2 separate regions of the Homo sapiens genome follow, and region 1 is linked to region 2. Evidence: promoter capture Hi-C in 16 types of primary human blood cells and fetal thymus (Javierre and others, 2016). All regions are on one chromosome and are shown on one strand. Each heading gives the region's core, a stretch centred on a gene start or on the middle of the fragment in contact. The rest is flanking DNA. Distances are from core to core; before and after follow the strand shown. Region 1 holds the start of LOC105375130 (a long non-coding RNA gene). Region 2 holds the start of CARD11 (caspase recruitment domain family member 11).

Region 1 (2,700 bases), core at 201-2,700, 75 kb before region 2:
GACGATGATAATGATGATCATGATGGTGAGGATGATGATGAACATGATGATGAAGAGGGAATGGTGATGAAGATGATGGTGATGATGGTGGTGATCATGACGGTGAAGATGATGATGAAGAAGATGGTGAGGATGATGATAATGATGGGGATCATGATGGTGAGGATGATGGAGGCATATGGACATAAACATTTTCAGTAGAATAAGACTCTTGATTAACCAGATTTCACCAGGATGACAATAATGGCCAGTAATTAGCTCACACTTATGGAGTGCTCCCTGTGTGTCTAGTGCTTTGCAGTGTTATCTTCCTAAATCTTTGTGAGTCTCCCAACCTTCATTCAGGCACATTCTTTGGAGCTAACTCCACCTCTGGCTCTAGAGAAGGGGTAGATAGCTCAGGCCTAATCTGACCAATGTAGTCTCATCCCCTAGACTGTGATGGATTCAGAGATGACCACATGAGCTTTGCAAAATAGACCAATGAGCCCTGAGGAGGGTTTTAATGGAAGCTTCTAGGAAAGGAGGTTTTTTTTAGCTTCTGTGTGGGTTTCCAGAAGTGACACATGCTTGCCTTCTCACTTCAGTTCTGGTTGACAACCACATTATAATTTGATGTCAGCCAGGCACGGTGGCTCACGGTTGTAATCCCAGCACTTGGGGAGGCCAAGGCGGGCAGATCATGAGGTCAGGAGTCTCAGACCCGCCTGGCCAATACAGTAAAACCCTGTCTGTACTAAAAAAAACAAAAATTAGCTGGGCGTGGTGGCGGGCGCCTGTAATCCAAGCTACTCGGGAGGTTGAGGCAGGAGAATTGCTTGAACCCAGGAGGTGGAGGTTGCAGTGAGCTGAGATCACGCCACTGCACTCCAGCCTGGGTGACAGAGCAAGACTCTGTCTCAAATAATAATAATAATTTGATGTGATGATGAAGCCACTACTGCCTAGAAATGGAAATATACAAGGTGCTGTCTCCGTTTGCGTCAGTGTTTATGTTCTTTGCATCCGCATGCACCCCAGCTGGTTCAAGTTGCAGTATTATCAGCCTCATTTTACAGAGGGGAAAACTGAGGTTCAGGGAGGTCATGGGTACATAACTAATAAGGGGCAAGCGTGAGATTTGCACCCAGTAAGTTGGATGTTAAACCTTAGAACTTAATCACTCAGTTGTACCAAAATAGTGTGCTTACTGGTGGAGGTTTCAAGTCCTCAACTGCAAAATAACTCTGGCTTTTAAGCCTTTCTTCTGGAGTTCTGTCTTCCAGAGTCACTAACATCTTCTATCCCAAGCTGGGCTCCACCCCAGCATCCATACAGACAGCAATGGGACTTTTAGTCTTACCTCTGTATTTCCAAAAGTCTAATGGAAGCCCCTGTGTTTTTACAGAGCTTGATGCCACTCAGCCTAATTAGAATACAGAGCCTAATTAGATTCCTTCAACTGGAATCAGATCCACTTCATGGAAAACACTGCTTAGCTCTGGCTAGTGGAAGAGCCGATTGCCTGATGTACATATTTGATTAATAAGAATAATTTTGGTTGGGTGCAGTAGCCCATGCCTGTAATACCATCACTTTGGGGGTGCTGAGGCAGGTGGATCGCTTGAGCCCAGGAATTTGAGACCAGCCTTGGCAACATAGCAAGACCCTATCTCTACCAAAAAAAAAAAAAAATTAATTAGCTAGGCATGGTGGTGTATATACCTGTGGTCTCACCTACTCAGGAGGCTGAGACAGGAGGATTGCTTGAGCCCAGGAGGTCAAGGCTACAGTGAACCATGATTGCACCACTGTACTCCAGCCTGGGCAATGGAGCAATACCCTGTCTCAAAAATAATAATAATATTCTTCAAAACAAGCATTATTTCTTAATAAATGCAACTTAGTAAACAAAATCTTTGGAAGAACCAGATTCATGAGAACACAATGAAGGGGGCATTTGCCTCACCCCTCCTGAGTGTGGATGTCACCCCTAGCATCCCTCAGTTCTCAGATCCAGGCTTATTTGACGACTCCCCAAGGTCTGGAGATATCCCTCCATGCCAGGTCACCCAAGAACAAGAGCTGAGCAGAAAACAGCTCCTGTTCAGCACAAGATGAATGTTGGTGGACCCCTTCCCCAAAATGAAAAAGGGAGAAGTTAATAGGCTGATAAAACCAAAATCTTGCTCAGAGATTGTTTAGAAACCACTGGGTGGGAGGCGATGGTGGCTGAACGCAGAATGGAAGCTCTGCAGGGTTTCTGTCGGAGGCTGGTGGAGAAAGCTGCTGGCAGCCAGCCCGTGTGCAAGGGGAGCAGAGAGAAGGCTCATTCCAGGTAAATTCCAGTGCTGTCTCCAAAAGGGACAAATGCAGGAGGGTGGGAGAGAAGGTGGCAGAGAAGCTTCATGAAAGGAGACAGGCTGTTCTAACAGGGCTCTGCGCTCGGAGGAGAGAAGTGCTAGGAAGCCTCTCCTCTCTCAATCTCTCTTTTAACCTCTCCCTTTCCCTTCCTCCCTGCTTTCCTCTCTCTCCCTCCCTCTTTCTCTCTCCTCTCCCCCTCCGTCTTTCTGCACCGCCCCTTTCTTCCCTCTCTTCTCCCCCTCCTTCTTCCCTCTCTTCTCCCCCTCCTTCTTCCCTCTCCCTCTCTCTCTCTCCCTCCCTCTTTATCTCTCAACATCCCCCTCTCTTTATCTCTCAACATCCCCCTCTCTCCCTCCC
Region 2 (2,761 bases), core at 21-2,520:
GCCTGCCTTTGCCTACCCATAGCTTAGCTCTCGCTTTTAAATAAGAACATGTAGTATTTGGTTTTCCACTCCTGAGTTACTTCACTTAGGATAATGGCCTCCAGTTCCATCCAAGTTGCTGCAAAATACTTTATTTCGTTCTTTTTTATGGCTGAGTAGTATTGCATGGCGTGTGTGTGTGTATCACATTTTCTTTCATCCAGATTTTTGAGTCTGCAATCCATGTAAACCCTTGGGACCATCCCACCCATGACGATGGCCATTTGGGGTAAATTATTAAAATGATGACATCCAGCTGGGCGCAGAGGCTCATGCCTGTAATCCCAGCACTTTGGGAGGCTGAGGTGGGCATATCACTTGAGGTCAGGAGTTCGAGGCCAGCCTGGCCATCATGTTGAAACCCCATTTCTACTAAAAATACAAAAATTAGCCAAGTTTGGTGGTGCACGCCTGTGGTCCCAGCTACTCGGGAGGCTGAGGTGGGAGAATCGCTTGAACCCAGGAGGTGGAGCTTGCAGTGAGCTGAGATTGTGCCACTGCACTCCAGCCTGGGTGACAGAGCGAGACTCCATCTCAAAAAATAAAAATAAAGTAAAATGATGACATCCAAATCACAGTTTCTCTTACAAGTATACTTCACCGGAACATCGAGGGCACAAGCTGATGGTGGGTGTCTTGGACCCCAAAGCTGTCGGGGTGAGGAAGGCCTTTGAAGGGGTGCTGACCACCCGGCATGCCCAGGAAGCTTCCAGAACAGGGGCTGAGGGAGGAAAGAGGCTTGGGGTGTAGGAGGCTGCAGGATTTGATGTGGGGCACCCCGTTCCCCTCCCATTGCAGTGACAGGCTCTGGAATTTCTTCAGAAATTCAGCTAGATCTCGGGAGCCAGTGCCCTGGAGAACCTAGAAGGGAGAGAGCCCCTCCCAAGGCCCCACCTGGACTCTGCCGGGGGTCACGGCTGGGTGGGGACTGATGCCCAGACTGGTCCAGCCTCACCCCGACTGATGCAGGTGGGCTGGGCCCTGAGACTCGCCTTGGTCTCCCCATCTCCGGCTCCCTGATCTGTCCCCAAGCACCCCCACCCCCGGCCCTGTCCCCACTCCCACCCCCACCTCCTTGCCGCCCTCCTCCCGAAGCACCGACTCCGCCCCCTCCCTCTCTTCCTTATCTTTTTCTAACCTTTCGCATTTTTTAGTCTCATTTCCTGTCGGGTTTTGCATTTCCCTCCCCCGCCCCTCCCAGCCTATGACATACTTTCTCTCCTTTTTTCTCTCCTGCCTCCTCTGGCCTTCGGACTCCTGCCCGCGCCGCCCGCAGCCCCCTCCCGGCCCTGCAGCCCCTGGGCGGGCGGCGCCCCTCGGAGGACGGCTCCGGGCCCGGGGGGACGGAGGGCCTGGTCGCCTGGAGGAAGCCGGAGGCCTGCGTGGAGGAGGCGCCCCGCGCAGCTGGCTGGCGGAGCATGAGCGCCCCAGGTAGGCGCAGCGGGGATGGGGGAGCTGGCGGAGGGGGAGCACGAGGCGGGGAGTTGGGGGAAGAGAAGAGGGCACGGGGAGGAGATGGGGGGCATCAGTGAGATGACACGGTGGCGGGGGGGGCGTCGGGGGATGGGAGTGGCTCCCGCTGGTCCCGCGATGCTGGGGGTATCCTTCCCTCTCCATCTCTGTCCCCCTGCCCCCCTTCTCTCTCTCACTCTCCTCTCCCCTTTTTCCCTTCCAACCCTTTTTCTCCCTCACTTTCCACCTCGTGTGCCTCTCCTCCGTGTCTCTTTGAGCGTCTCTGAGTATCACCGCCCAGCAAAGCCCCCACCTCCTCCTACTGGACAGGAAAAAATCGGGGGTCAGGAGGCTGCAGCCCCTTGGTGCACCTGCCCCAGAGGGAGGAAGAGAAACTTTTCTGACACCTGAAAGGCCCGGAAGTTTGCAGACCACAGCCCAGCCTGACTCAGAGGCTCCTGGGAAGGTGGGGCCTGGCTCAGGGAGGAAGGGCAGCCGCACCAAAAGTGGGTGTGGAGCTGGGAGATGGGAGAGGACAGCCCCCCGCGGGGACTGTACTAGAAAGGGGGTGGCGGGGGCACAGGAGAGGGCCCAGGTTCCCGACTGAAACCCGGAGCAGGTCCTAGCGGCCTCAGGCCTGAAAGCCACCTCCCCCAGGAGGCCCCTCCAGGCCCGATGGGGCCACCAGGCCTTCTGCTGAGCCCCCTCTGCAGATAGGGGCAGAGAGGGTGTTTCTGTCCCTCGGGGGCTCTGAGCACCGCTGGAGGCTGTCACGGGGACCCAGGTTCATGGACAGTGGTCTCAGCTGTGAGCTTCGGGGCTGCCCACACAAACTTGGTCTTGGACCAAACTGACCTCTCTCTGCCTGGCCTGCTCTCAAAGCCTTTGATTTGTAGTTCAAAACATTTTCTCCTAATATTTATGACTCGTCTTGAAGGTATAAGGTTACCAACCTACCAGAAAGGGGAGAAAAATAGTCGATCGTTCATTCCACATTTATTGAGCGCTCAGCCTGTGCATAATGCGTGCCGGAAATCCCGGGAGCCGGGAATTGATATGAGGACAGGAATTTCTCCGTAAGTGTCCACTTCTGCGCTTTCGCGGAAACTCCGGTTCTCTCCCCAGCAAGGCATCTGTAAAGAGATGACACCCCTGCCTCAGGCCAGGGCTGCCCTGAGGAGCGCAACAGTGACCAGGACTCAGCGTAATTCAAGGCCAGGGAATGCTTGGACCCGTGTGGATGTTACTTGCCTGGGTATCAGATAGGCAG

Evidence for each region. The method cuts DNA at HindIII sites, captures the fragments that hold promoters and counts their contacts. A CHiCAGO score of 5 or more calls a contact.
Region 1: a contact is called between a fragment that was not itself captured here and the fragment with the promoter of CARD11 in region 2, in 1 of 17 cell types (total CD8 T cells). The highest score is 5.3, in total CD8 T cells.

What each region holds. Positions count from the first base shown.
Region 1 is chr7:3,117,592-3,120,291 of GRCh38, reverse strand. LOC105375130 (a long non-coding RNA gene) reads left to right here and starts at 2,258. Exons shown (of 2, transcript XR_007060191.1): 1 at 2,258-2,317. The HindIII fragment of the contact is 1,871 bases long and covers 515-2,385 here.
Region 2 is chr7:3,042,376-3,045,136 of GRCh38, reverse strand. It overlaps CARD11 (caspase recruitment domain family member 11), which reads left to right and starts at 1,270. Exons shown (of 25, transcript NM_032415.7): 1 at 1,270-1,470. RefSeq lists an enhancer at 1,048-1,342 and a silencer at 1,208-1,557. The HindIII fragment of the contact is 15,618 bases long and covers 748-2,761 here.